Linked DNA regions of Homo sapiens: region 1 is linked to region 2. The links are contacts of gene promoters, found by promoter capture Hi-C in blood cells and fetal thymus (Javierre and others, 2016). All regions are on one chromosome and are shown on one strand. The core of a region is centred on a gene start or on the middle of the fragment in contact, and the rest is flanking DNA. Distances in the headings are between cores, read along the strand shown.

The links. The method cuts DNA at HindIII sites, captures the fragments that hold promoters and counts their contacts. A CHiCAGO score of 5 or more calls a contact.
Region 1: a contact is called between a fragment that was not itself captured here and the fragment with the promoter of SST in region 2, in 5 of 17 cell types (M1 macrophages, naive B cells, naive CD4 T cells and 2 more). The highest score is 6.0, in M1 macrophages.

The regions. Positions count from the first base shown.
Region 1 is chr3:187,349,116-187,355,824 of GRCh38, forward strand. No RefSeq gene overlaps it. Among named protein-coding and RNA genes, the nearest start is that of RTP4, 16 kb to the right of the region's middle. The HindIII fragment of the contact is 3,173 bases long and covers 2,008-5,180 here.
Region 2 is chr3:187,668,889-187,675,588 of GRCh38, forward strand. SST (somatostatin) reads right to left here and starts at 1,506. Exons shown (of 2, transcript NM_001048.4): 1 at 1,266-1,506; 2 at 24-389. The coding sequence starts at 1,403. The coding sequence ends at 177. The HindIII fragment of the contact is 4,322 bases long and covers 1-4,290 here.

The DNA of each region.
Region 1 (6,709 bases), core at 2,344-4,843, 320 kb before region 2:
GGTGAAACACCATTTCTACTAAAAATAACAAAAATTAGCTGGGCATGGTGGCACGTGCCTGCAGTCCCAGCTACTTGGGAGGCTGAGGCAGGAGGATCATTTGAACCTGGGAGGCGGAGGTTGCAGCGAGCTGAGATCACGCCACTGCACTGCAGCCTGGTGACAGAGCGAGACTCCGTCTAGAAACAACAACAACAAAAACAAACATAAATGAATAAACACACATGTAAAAACATTTCAAAAATAAATTTTGAGGCCAGGAGTAAAAATGGAAAAAGATAATATTTTCTATTTGATTTAAAACATCAAGACCATATTTGTCATAAACTTATATGCACTTTAAACAATGTATTGCTAGATATAGAAAGCACAGTTCTTAGATATAAGAATAAAATTTGACTCACTAGAATTAAATAATTTTTATTCATTCCAATTTTTCTGTACAAAAAAGAGTTTTTAAACACCTTGTCTTTAAATTTAATTGACCAAATAGACCAAAAATAGAATATTAATGAGTTTAGTCACATAATTAATAGGATGAATTTACTAGATAATCTAGCATATGGTACCTTATAAAGAATGTATATTATATGCCCATAGAAGCAGGAAAAAAAATGTGTACTGCATTCTAGGACTATCACACAATCAAGCTAGATCCACATAAATGCTAGATCAAAACTGAGACCTACTGAAAAAAACAAAAACTAAACAAGTAAAATCTCAAATTTCTTTAAAAAATTGTAAATCAAATCAAAACTATATTCTGAGATATAAAAATCAACAAAAATAAGAACAGTATACAGCAAAAGTATGGGCTGGTACTAAGCATAAGCACTATTCATACATTTAAATTCAAAAGGCCCAAAATAACAACCAGGCCTTCAATTCAATACAGAAAAGTTAACAAAATAAGCCATATAGATGCATATATAAAATTATACAATTAATTAAATAAAAGCATAAATTAATGACTCTGAATGCTAAAAATGAAAAAATACAATTAATGGATAAAAGGGGCGATTCTTCAAAAAGATAAATAAAATACGCAGGTCCAGCCTGGTGCAGTGGCTCACGTCTGTAATCCCAGCACTTTGGGAGGCCGAGGCGGGCAGATTACCTGAGATCAGGAGTTCAAGACCAGCCTGGCCAACATGGTGAAACTCTGTCTCTACTAAAAAAACAAAAATTAGCAGGGCGTGGTGGCACACACCTGTAATCCCAGCTACTCGGGAGGCTGAGGCAGGAGAATTGCTTGAGCCTGGGAGACGGAGGTTGCAGTGAACTGAGATCATGCCACTGCACTCTAGCCCGGCTGACACAGCAAGACTCTGTCTCAAAAAAAAAAAAAAAAAAAAAAAAAAAAGGCAAGTCCTTTGGAATTTGGGCCTTGAATGAAGGGAGAAAATAAAAATATAAAGCATTAGAAATGAGGAAAGTATAACTAGATGAAAATCTAAACAAAATACAGAATTCTTTAGGAAAATTAGAAAACCAAAACTGACTCCAGACAAGGCTCTCCACCCCTCCCCACCCTGTGTATGTGGGTGTAGGGGTGGCAGTGGGAGAGGCTGTGGTTCTCCAGAACCTTCCAGTTGCCTGGAAAGTTCTGTTAGGAGGATCCCACTTTGTCCGCAGAGCTCATGTCCTTCAGGCCATCTTTGCAGGTAATAAAGGGTGTATGGTATTTTAATTTCCCCCAGGTCAGTGTCTATCTTTCAATGTGTTGTAAATAAAGGTGGAAGGAGGTATGCGTTATTTGCTTTCCAACATGTTCCAAGAATGCAAACAATATGAAAATCTGCCTACATCTTTTTATGGGGCTAGCATTGATATGTCTGATGCTAAAACTTGATGAGAGCACAAAACATAAACATATAGAAAATTCTAATTTATAAGTGGTAAATGAAATCATGTCAAAGTGACTTAAGAAAAAAAGGGAGCTGATTTGTTCATATTACCAAAAGATATGGCAGAATGTTCTTCGGCATGCTGGAAACAAGTACTTAAAGCTTCCCTTTGTACTGGTTTCATTCTCAAGCACATTTTCACCTGGCTGTGGCAAGCTGTCTAGGTACAAGCTGACATTCTATTAGCTTGGTACTCCAGCAGAAGGAGAGCATCTCTCTGTTGGCAACTCCAGCACAAGTCCCCATAGTGGCATCTCACTGGTCCGGCTTAGTTCCCATGCCATCACTAAACCATTCACTGTGGCCAGAAAATCTGGTGCTCTAATTGGCCAGGAGTGAGTTATGTGCTCACTCCTAGGTTATGGCTCAGTACTAGGAAGTCTATGAATATAAATGAGAATATTAATTATTTAAAAAGAAAAATCATGTGGGGAAAGGCATTATACTTGATTTAGCACTCATTTCTGGTTAGTTCATTCATTCCTTCAACATACATTTCTTAAGGACCAATTCTGTATGGTTTTCTGGTTTTGGTGTGGAAGTGAACAAAAACAAGCCAAACTCCCTGCTTTGTGGAGGTTACATATTAGGATTTAACATTGTATGCAGAATAGTAAGAAAGTTTAAATATGGTTAAAAAAAGTTAGATACTAAAAGCAAAATGTATGTTAAATATGGCAGCACTAAAGACATTCCCATCCTAGAGTATTTATTTTAATTATCTTTTAGAGCACAATTTTAATAAGGTTTCTGGGAAGCGCAGATATATATATTGAGTTTCTACTTGTTAAGGATCCTTTTTTTCTTTCCATTTTGCAAGTGAAAATAACTTGATAGATTTTTCAGACTCGAATATTTTTCCTTTAAACTCTGCAAAAGTTGCATCATATTTGCTGGAATTTAATATTAATGAGAAAGGACCTGAAGCCAACCTAATTTTTGTTGCTTTGTAGGTAAGCCATTTCCTCCCATCCCTGCCTGGATACATGTAAGACACCTCACCCAACCAATCTAAAAAAACTTAAAACTTACCAGAGTATGTGTATGTAGAAAACTCTATTGATTAATTTTGATTGCTTCTTATGAAGTCCTTTCAAACCCGAACATGTCTTTTTTGACTCAGAAACATTTTTTTTCTTCTTTAATTGTTTCTCCTCAATTTGCACTTTTCTCCTACCATATTTTTTGTATACCTAAATGGGATCTTCTGCATTTGTTCTTTACATCTTTGTTTTTCAATGGTTCACCACCTTCTCTCTTTTCTTTGATTTTGGGAGACGTTTTTGAACTTTTGCCCTCCTGCTTTGGTTTTCCATGATATTTAGTGCCCCTTTGCCGTTTGAATTTTGTTGGTGATATTCTTTGTTTGCAGTCTTTAAAACTGCATGATGTCATTTTAAAAGAAATATTTATTTAAGATTCTCAGAATCCAAATGAAATGTTCTCTCTATTCCCTAGTAATTTTATTTAATATGAAGTTCTCTGATTTCAGAAGCCTGTCCTTCCCAGTATTGGATGTTGAGCCTGAATCGCTCAAGAACTATTTGTGGACCTTTTAAATTTTTAGGTCTAGACAAGGAGGGGCTGAATAGGTTTGGATATACAGCAGTTCTTCTTTGCCTGTCTGCATTCCTGAAGCCTGACAAGGGTAGGCAGAAGGCTCGAGAAAATGATGGTCAGGGTCTTGGAATTCTCTGCTCAGGCTTCTTTCCTTTCCCATGTTTCATGTGATCTGAGAGCTAGCTGGGGCAGTGGCCTCATTTGCTGACCCTCAGAGTTCCATGCCACCCGGCTCATATGTCCTCGGGCGTGCTCCAGTGTGCTGGCACTCCCTTCACGGTGCATGGACCAGGAAACCTAATCCAAACAAGTCTAGGCAATAAAGGGAATGAGCACTCAGTTCACTGAGATAAGCTGAACGCTACAGGACTTTTTCCTCATAGCCTAATGAGGTTGTCAAGGACCAAGTTTCTTTTAGTCTTTGTTCTCTGCTTTCCAGATGTCTTCACCCCAAGCCAGACCTCCCTTAAGGAGACAAAAAATTTGCAGCAGTTCCCACAGTTCACGTCTGCACAGCACATGACCCAGTAGGAGATGGGACTGACTGGGTCAGACTGCAATACCTGAACTCCTTGTTATTGAAGAAGCATGAGGTCTCACTAATTGGCTTATACTCATATTGGCATTGCCGCTGCCTCCAGGGCTGAGGTGGCGTTAATTCACTATTTCCTGCTCCGCCACACAGCTGCTACCCAGGTGAAAGGGTTAAATGGCTAAGGGATAGTCATCCGTAATATATTCAGGTTTTTAATGCCTCTTCTAAGTGTGTTCTCAGAATTAGCCAAGTGCGCAAGTGGTAGAGATACACAGGGATAGATTTATTTACTTTTGTGAATCTACTATATTAATCATGTAGTTTGTTTAAATAGTGTGATTCAGTTTTGAGAGCAAAGTTGGGAAAACCTCTTACCCGTTATTTTTATTTTACTTTGATACTCTGTTAAGTCAAACTCAATGAGTGGGGAGCAGGGAGGCTAATGGGCATTTATAGAATGACATTATACTTTAATATTAAAATAGGAATATTTAGATTTACTTATATATGTAAGCAATTTTTTTTAGCATGTACTACTTGCCAGGTACAGTTGACCCTTGAACAATGTGGGGGTTAGGGGCACCAACCCGCCCCCACCACACAGTTAAACATCTGTGTACGACTTCTGACTCCCCCAAAACTTAACTCCTAATAGCACATTGTTGACTGGAGGCCTTACTGATAACATAACCAGCCTACTAACATGTATTTTGTATTATATATATTATTTATTATATTTTTACAATAAAGTAAGCTAGATAAAACAAAATGTTTCTGAGAAAATCATAAGGAAGAGAAAATAGATTTACTATTCGTTAAGTAAAAGTGGATGATCATAAAGGTCTGCATCCTTGTCATCTTCACATTGCGTGGACTGAGGGGGAGAAGTTGGTCTTGCTGTCTTGTCTCAGGGGTGGCAGAGGTGAAGAAAACCCATGTATAAGTGGACCCACTCACTTCAAACCTGTGCTGTTCAAGGGTCAACTGTGTTTCATTACTGAGCGTGAGAGTGCAATGTGTACCAGCCAAAGAAATGTTCCTGCTCTTAAAGAGTTTAAGTCATAGAAGAGATCAGTCAAGTCAATAGGTTTGTAGTGTGAAATTGTTATACAAGATGCCCTGGGTGCTACGGAAGCACATAGAGCAGGCACCAAATCTAGGCCTGGGGAAGCAGAAAAAGCTTATTTATTAGAGGAGAATACTGAGTAATACTTCAAGGGCAGGTCGGCATGGGCCAGGTAAAGAGATGCTGAAGGAGCCTCCAGACAAGGAGAGCTCATGTGGGAAGGCCCAGCAATGAGAGAGGCAGTAAAGCAAGGTTCTAGAGTTAAACTATCTGGTTTGGAATCCTGGCTCTTCCACTTATCAGCTGTGTGCACAAAGTATTTCGACAGGGATAATAAAAATGGCAGCTACCCCGTGAAGTTGTTATGAAGATTGAGCAAGTTAACATTTGTAAAACACTTCAAACAGGGCTTTGTTTGTTACATAAAAAATAAAATTAAACCTACATATAAAACAAAACAAATCTTTCCATACTGCCTCAATCAACAACGAGTAAGAAAGAATCTACTCTTTAGTGTCTCCCATTGGAGGCCGCCATGTTTACTCCCTGACCTCCGCAGCAGTGGATCCAGCTTCCTAAATGAGCTTGTCTGCTTCCCCTGCCCTGCCTGCATTGAGCTTCCAGCTGGCTCAAGAGACATGCTCACACACAAGCTCAGAAAAGAACCACGAACATTGAGAGACAGCAGCTCAGTCAGTGAGTCCATGGGAAGAGCACCAACATGGAATCCAGGAGAAGTGGTCATGTGTACATCTAAGATAAAAGCCAGGCAAGGCAGCCATCAGTGACTTGGGCAGGTCGTCACAGAGACTGACAGGAAGTTCTTGTTGCCACTTCCATATTTTGTGAAAAGGCAAGACTCCAGCTCTGGGAAGCCTGACCAGCACCAAGCCAGGCCTGCATCCAAGAAAATCACAATACAAAGCAGGTTATCAAAGGACTAATTCCCTCCCTCCCTCCCTCCCTCTCTCCCTCCCTCCCTCTCTCTCTCTTTCTTTCTCTTCCTTCCTTCCTCCCTTTCTGCCTTCCTTCCTTCTTTCTTCTTCTTTCTCTCTCCTTCCTTCCTTCTTTCCTTCCTTCCTCCTTCCTTCTACCTTCCTTCCTTCCTTTCTTTGTTTCTACAAAAAATTTATTTAAATGCTTAACTTGCGCCAGACAATGTGTCAGGTACTGGATATATTAGTAGTAACATATAGTTTCTGCCTTCAAAATGTTTAGACTAGTGAGAAAGACAGGTATCAGATGATGTGATGCTTTGATAAAAATATGCACAGGGCACTATAGTAACAACCCAAAAGTTCTGACCTTACCAAACTCAACTGCAAGGATGAAAAGAGAAGTGAGGAATGGAGGTTGATAGAGAAAGAGGATTAAGAAAGACTTCATTCAGGAGAAACCCAATTATTAATATGAGATCACAGCAAGATGGCTTCTAAATTGGCCTGTTGAAGCCACTCATAATACACCTGTGCTTCTAGAACTTAGAGTAGAGACTGTGGGTTGGCAGTGTACAAGGACAGTGATATAACAAATATAAGAGCAATGTTTGAATGAAAGAGAAAAAAATTCAGTGTCCATAAAGTAAGAACAAACCTCCATGTAGAGACTGCAATGATGTACAAAGTAGAGAATTGTAGAGAA
Region 2 (6,700 bases), core at 256-2,755:
ACTCAATAGAAACCAAATTCACATTTTTCATAATTTCACCATAATTTTATTTTGTATTTACAGTTTTCAGTTTCTAATGCAAGGGTCTCGCTGAAGACTTGGAGGATTAGGGAAGAGAGATGGGGTGTGGGGGCGAGGGATCAGAGGTCTGATATGGACAATACTAGTTAAGAAAGCTAACAGGATGTGAAAGTCTTCCAGAAGAAATTCTTGCAGCCAGCTTTGCGTTCTCGGGGTGCCATAGCCGGGTTTGAGTTAGCAGATCTCTGCAGCTCAAGCCTCATTTCATCCTGCTCAGCAGCCTGGGACAGATCTTCAGGTTCCAGGGCATCATTCTCCGTCTGGTTGGGTTCAGACAGCAGCTCTGCCAAGAAGTACTTGGCCAGTTCCTGTATAGGGCAGAAGGGATAGAAAAAGAGAGAAAGAGAAGTGGGGAGGACAATGGAAAAAATTTGAAAAGCCTAAATTAAAGAACAGATTTGGTCACACACAAAATCCAGTTTTTACAGCTGCGCATTTTTTGTCACATTTAAAATCAATCAAGGATATAAAAATAAGGATAGTTGCTATAATTACCAAGTTACACAAAAAGGCTTTAAGAGCTCAAATGTTTCTGCAACCTTTCTGTCCCTGTAGACTTAACACACACACACACACACACACACGCACAAACACACACACACACACACACACACACATAAAGACCGTTCTGGTAAGATAAAGTGTGTGCCAACAGTTTAATTCAATTTTCACATCACGAGCTACAAAGTAGAATTGTTTTACCATTTTTACCAAGTAAACTGTAGGGGAACGAGACTTCTCACAATCTCAAACATACGGCGTTCGGTCTTTAGATTGCCCCTTTGCCCTAGTCCCGACGTTTGGAAGTGAGGTACGCTAAGAGGTAGCAGCTTCAGAGGTCTGCGTTTCAGCACCTGGGTCAGCGCTTCCCAGGGTCAGCACCAGGGATAGACGCCATTGTCGCTTCGTGCCCAGACAACTACCCAGATTTTGTAATTTTCTTGAATGCCAAGTAAGAACTCACCTGAACTGTGACCGACTGCGCTTATCATGGGGGAAAAAAAGAGTTAGAAGGGGATTCTAGCCTTTGATAGTTTTCTCAAGAGCTTCGGGAGCTGAGGGACCCAGAAAAGCACCAAAACTCTTTAGAAGGACTGAGCATCCCTTACGTCCAAACCAATGGGGCAGGAGCAAGGCTTAGGGAGGGCTGGAGAATCCGGGAGACGTCGAGGGAGTCTCCTTACCTGCTTCCCCGCGGCAGCAGCCAGGGACTTCTGCAGAAACTGACGGAGTCTGGGGTCCGAGGGAGCGCCGGTGACACAGCCCAGGGCCAGGACGATGGACAGCGCAGCCAGCGCGCACTGGAGGCGGCAGGACAGCATCTCGGCGCCGCGAAAGCCGAGCTGGAGAGTGGCTGGTCAAACTCTAGGCGCGGATCAGCAGGCAGCAGCGATGGCTCCGAACCTCGCTCCTAAAGCGGCTTGTGTGCTCTCAACCGTCTCCCTCTGTTTTAAACTCTCTCTCTGACGTCAGGCTAGGAGGCGCCCCCAGATCTCACCAGCCCTTTTACGCACCATTAGCCTCGCAAAATCAATCACAGAAGACAGGGGAGGTGACAAGATCTAAAGTGGCTTACTTAAAAAAAAAAAAATACTGCACACGCACAGGCACACACAATTCCACATGCCCCACGATTTATACAATCTTTTATTTTCACTCAGTGCTATGAGCATACACATTCCACAATTTCACTCCCACACATGCACACTCAATTACACACAAACAGAGGCTCAAACACTCAGCTCTTAAAGAGCAAATACACTATCACCCTTAAATGCACACAAATGTACCCAGACAACTCCATCTGTCATCATACTCTAACATTTTAGGAAGGCCCAACAAGCAACAGGGCATGTGTATGGTAGGTGGAGATCAGAATCATTCCTCTAATAACAGATTTGAGAATGAAATATGGACAGTAGAAGGACTGAGCCCTCTTTATTTCCTCCATTATCTCATAAAAAGCCTTGAAGATGTAACGGGGCTCTAAAAGAACTTCACTTTTCTCTACAATGGGGGAGAAGGTACCTCTGGCTCACCCTCCCTCCCTCTTTCTCAGCAACTGAGACTTCTGATCTACCTGCCTTTCTATTGTGACCATATATATGTATGAGTGTGTGTATATGTACGGGAGGGAAAGAGAGAGAGAGAGATTGAAATGGACTTCATTTTGGTGCTGAGAAATTTAGAGCTGGAAGGCAATCTAAGAAATTATTCAATAAACCTCAGAATTTGAATCAGTAAGGCAGAGTAATGGTCAGTAAATTGTTCTCCTTCACATACTGCACACTTTGAGCAAAACCAGACCTCCACATTCCAAAGCCAGTGTTCCTTCTACTGAGCTCTGAGTTTTCTAACAGATTCCTGGCCGGTAAGCATAGTTTTATGTCAGGAAGCCCCAGTTTAGACATATAAGGTCTAGGAACTCCCAGAACATATGTGACCACTATTGTATATCTATATGTGGAAAGGATCAAAAGATTCTTGGTTAAATTCAGCTCTGCCTGATCTCCTAGAAACAAAGAAAGTTTAAGAAAACCTGTCCTTGAATTCTGATTGAACTCTGGTTAAATGTTTACTGTTCAGGCCAGAGTTCTGACTGCTTTTATCTAAATAGTTCCTTACTGAGGAAGGACCAGCTAATTTCCTAGCATGGACGAGATGATCCCTACAGGATCTTTAAGAGCTGTTATCTTATGAGCTTCAAAAAAGCCAATATTAGCTAAAAAGATATGCTGCATCTCTGGAAACCATGCGAAGCTCATATTAGGTATTAAAATATTCTCAGTACTTAGACCCGAACCACAGTGTTGAGAGGCAGAAGGGTTTGGGAAGTATCCTGAATGGCTTGAATAATTGTCACTATTTCTTTTTGTGCTTGTAATCCAAGGCAAAGCGGAAATGCACAGCAAGAAGTGTTAAAGTTTCCAGGTCTTGACAAGGCCAGCCAAGACTAAGCACAAAGTGGGGCATTAAAAAGTCATTCACATGTGTTGGAGTAGTCTAAGAGATCAATGAATCTGGAGCTGTGGAACCCAGTCCTAGGAAATACATGTTATATTCTCTAAATCTTGCAACTCTCTCTGGCCTCTAAGGACTCAGAGTTTAGTTCTATCACTGTGACTGTCTCTAGGTACCTCCAAATGATCTCATATCTCCTGTACCCAGGATGTGGTCTTTGGCATACCCACTGAGTAGGAAACGAGGATTTTTCCAAAGCAGGAGCCAGCCGAAGAACAAATAGCAGCTCCCCATCTTCCCCTGTGCTCTAGGATCTCTTCTGTCTCCTTCCCCAGACGCTTGCTCCCCTCCTTCCACATCCTTGTGCTCTCCCTCTACACTTTCTCCTCCTTCTTATTCCTCCTTTTCCTTAACCTTTCTGCAAATTTATGTTTCAGAATTTTCCTCACTCAATCCTTCTTTTGTCTCCTCTCTTGACTCTGTATCCTCATTCCTTTGTTTTTCTTGCTCTTCTCAATCATTTTCTGACTTTGGTTTGGGTCAGCCCGGCTCTTTCCCTGCCTTCTCACCCTGCTTAGCCAGTGCCTATCCCAGTCTCTGCCTCAAGACATCTCTCCCTCTCTTTTCTCTCCTCTTTTCTTTCTTCTTCCCTCCTCAACTGCTTCTCACCAAAAACAAACAAACAAAAAACCTCATGATGTCTATCTGTTTAAGTATCTACTTATGAATAGTAAACAGTTGCTTCCCTCATACCCTGCTGAAGAGCTGAAGCTGTAAATGAGATGACTTAAGGGTTTTGCTTTTGTTGTTTTATAACTCCTGGAGAGTTATGAGTCTGAGAACCACTTATCAGAGAAGCCAGGACAAAAAGGGACATAAATTCTCCCTTAAGCCCTCCATGGCCAGTTATAGCTTAAAGGTTGGTTTAGCATGAAGCACTTCAAACTTTCCCAACCTGAGCCTTCTGTAATCAACCCCCAGGGCATCTCTCCCAAGTCTCAAAGCTGGAAGGGTAAAGTGTTTTGTGGTTGTATTGGGGACGCTATTGCCCAGACCAACCAAACTCACTAGGAATCCTTACCCAGTCCTCTGTTGCTCACAAAACACTTTCTCATCCAACACTTCAGGGCATGCTATTCCCACCTCACAGAGGAGGAAACTGAGGTCCTGAGACCTTCAGTGCCTTACAAGAGGGCACACAGGCAGGAAGTGGCATGGTCACAGGGAGAATGTTACTTCACTTGAGAAAGCTTCATGATTCCCTGACTCAGAGATGCCAGAGATTCCTGGCCGAGCAGTCTGCAGCCGGGATACATGCACCTCTAGAAGGCATCCAGGCCTCACCTCTTTCATGTGCAGCTTTTTCTGGACAGGATATGATTTCCCACCTCCCTTGTGGAACGTACATTTTGGAGTGACTACCTGCCAATATAAGGAGTAGAAACTTATTTTAATAAAAAGCAACATAATCTGTGAATAGACATAGACATTCAATGTTAAGCAATGCAAGGAAGGAGAAAGTGTCTGTACTGGGAGTCAAGAGACCTGGGCTCTAGCCTGATTCTGCCACAACCAACTGTGGGACATCTTCTCTGGGCCTTGGTTCTTTATTTGCAAAATAAAACTTGGCAGGTCATCTTTGTGGTTCCCTCCAGCTCTGATAATTAATGAGTATAAATTTGAGGAAATAAAAAGGCAAAGTAGAATATACTATTATGTTAAGATGTTATTATTCTCTCAAGATGAGAATTTTATATTGGAAAAGAACCTGGTTTTTACGTAATATCAGAAAGGAGGCTGAGTGCAGAGGACATTTCCCAGGCCTACTAGAAGATGTATTCTTGACTCTTGCTTCTGCTGCTGACCTGCCTTTCTCACTCTGGACCTCAATTTCTCCATCCTTAAAATTGATTCACTCAACCTCTTTCTACAGCTAATTCCAGAGAAAATTTGCTAGACAGATGCCAATGATATAGCAGTGAACTGGATAGACAGAGTCCTCATGAGAAAGACAAAGAATAAACATGTTAATCAACATGTATTAGGGTTAAAGCAAAGTATAGAGCATAATGGTAGGCGGAAGATACTTCTGAGGAGGAGCTCTTTGAACAGAGCTCTCTGAGGCAAGGGAGCTAGCCATGCAAATATCTGAATAAAGATATCTCCAACTCAGGTGGAAGGACGATCAATGCAAAGACCTGAGGCAGAAGTATGCTTGGTAGATGCAAAGAGCAGCAACAAGGCAAGGACTTGAACAGAGTGGTTAAAGTAGAGAGGGTTAGGAGATGAGGTCAGCAAGGCAGACCAGGAGCAGATCACAGGAAGCCTTGAAGGCTGTGGCAGGGAAACCATTTTTGAGCAAGAAAACTGACCTGATTTGGTTCTTTTAAAAAATTCTTTTAAAAAAAGCCCTCTGCTTAGTGGGGAATTAATTGTAGGAGGGCAAGAGTTCAAGAAAGGAGATAAGCTAAGAGTCTAAGAAGTGTTTAAGAGAGAAGAGGAGCCAGGGCAAAAGGAACACAGATTTTCTTTGAAATGTCTCATGGCCAACTGTGTGGATTTGCATAAAGGGACTTTGAAACTTCCCAATACAAGCCCTTTGCTCCCAACCCTCAGGGCCCATCTCAATTCCCAAGTTCCAAAGGCTGGGAGCAGGGAGGTGTTTTGTGTTTTTTTACTGGGGATCTTGTGCTCTAGACCTAGTTCTGGTGACATAAGATGATGTTTGGGGCTAAGGTGGTAGCCATGAAGAAGGTGAGGACTGGTTAGACTTAAAGTTCATTTTGAAGTATAGTAAGCAGGATACAATGATGGTTTATTTGGATATCGAGTTAAGGAAATGAGAAGAACCATCAACAATGCCTAGAGAGTCATCCAGATGCTCTCTCAAATGCCTTCAAGTTTGACAAATTCTAGAGAGGTCAGGAAGTGGGTTTATGCTAAAAACTTCTCCTGGACATTTTGCAAATAGAAAACCATTGATTTTCCAGACAGAAGAAAGTGAGGAAAAATGTCAGTGGGGAGAACAACATGGAACAGCAAAAACAGCCATGGACTGGGAGTCTGAGGCCCCGGGCTTAAGTACTCAGTTTGTATCTGCTTAAAATGGACCTGATTCTCCTCTGTTTTTCTGAAACAAGATTTGAGAACCAAGTAAGACAATGTAAGTGAAAATGCTTAGCAGTCCGTAAAATGTCACAGGTTTTATTATTGCTGCTCAGATGGAGGCAACCAGTCCTAAGCCGAAGGTGATTCCAATGAACCAGTCAATCACTTTGGGAGCTGGAGACCCTGCTGAGGCTCTGACCCAAGAAGCATGCAGGCCTTTCTCACTGGGAATGTATAGGGTGTGATTTAAAGGTCTAGGAAGATCTCACAGAAATGCAGCAGATGGGTGGGGAAATCCCTCCATTAGAAAATAGTCTCTTCTTCCTTACATATACTTACCTTGGAGATATAACACATTAAAACTTAGTAACTATTAACATTTTAATATGGATTCATTTGTTGAATTGTCTTCTAGATTTATAGCTGGCTAGTGGAAGGTTTGATTTAAGTAAGCTGGGAGAAGGAGATCAATTTGGAGCAAGAAACCATGCAGCAGAGGGCAGATTGCACGAGATGAGCCGTTGGGGATGGCGGGAGGCTATGAGCATAT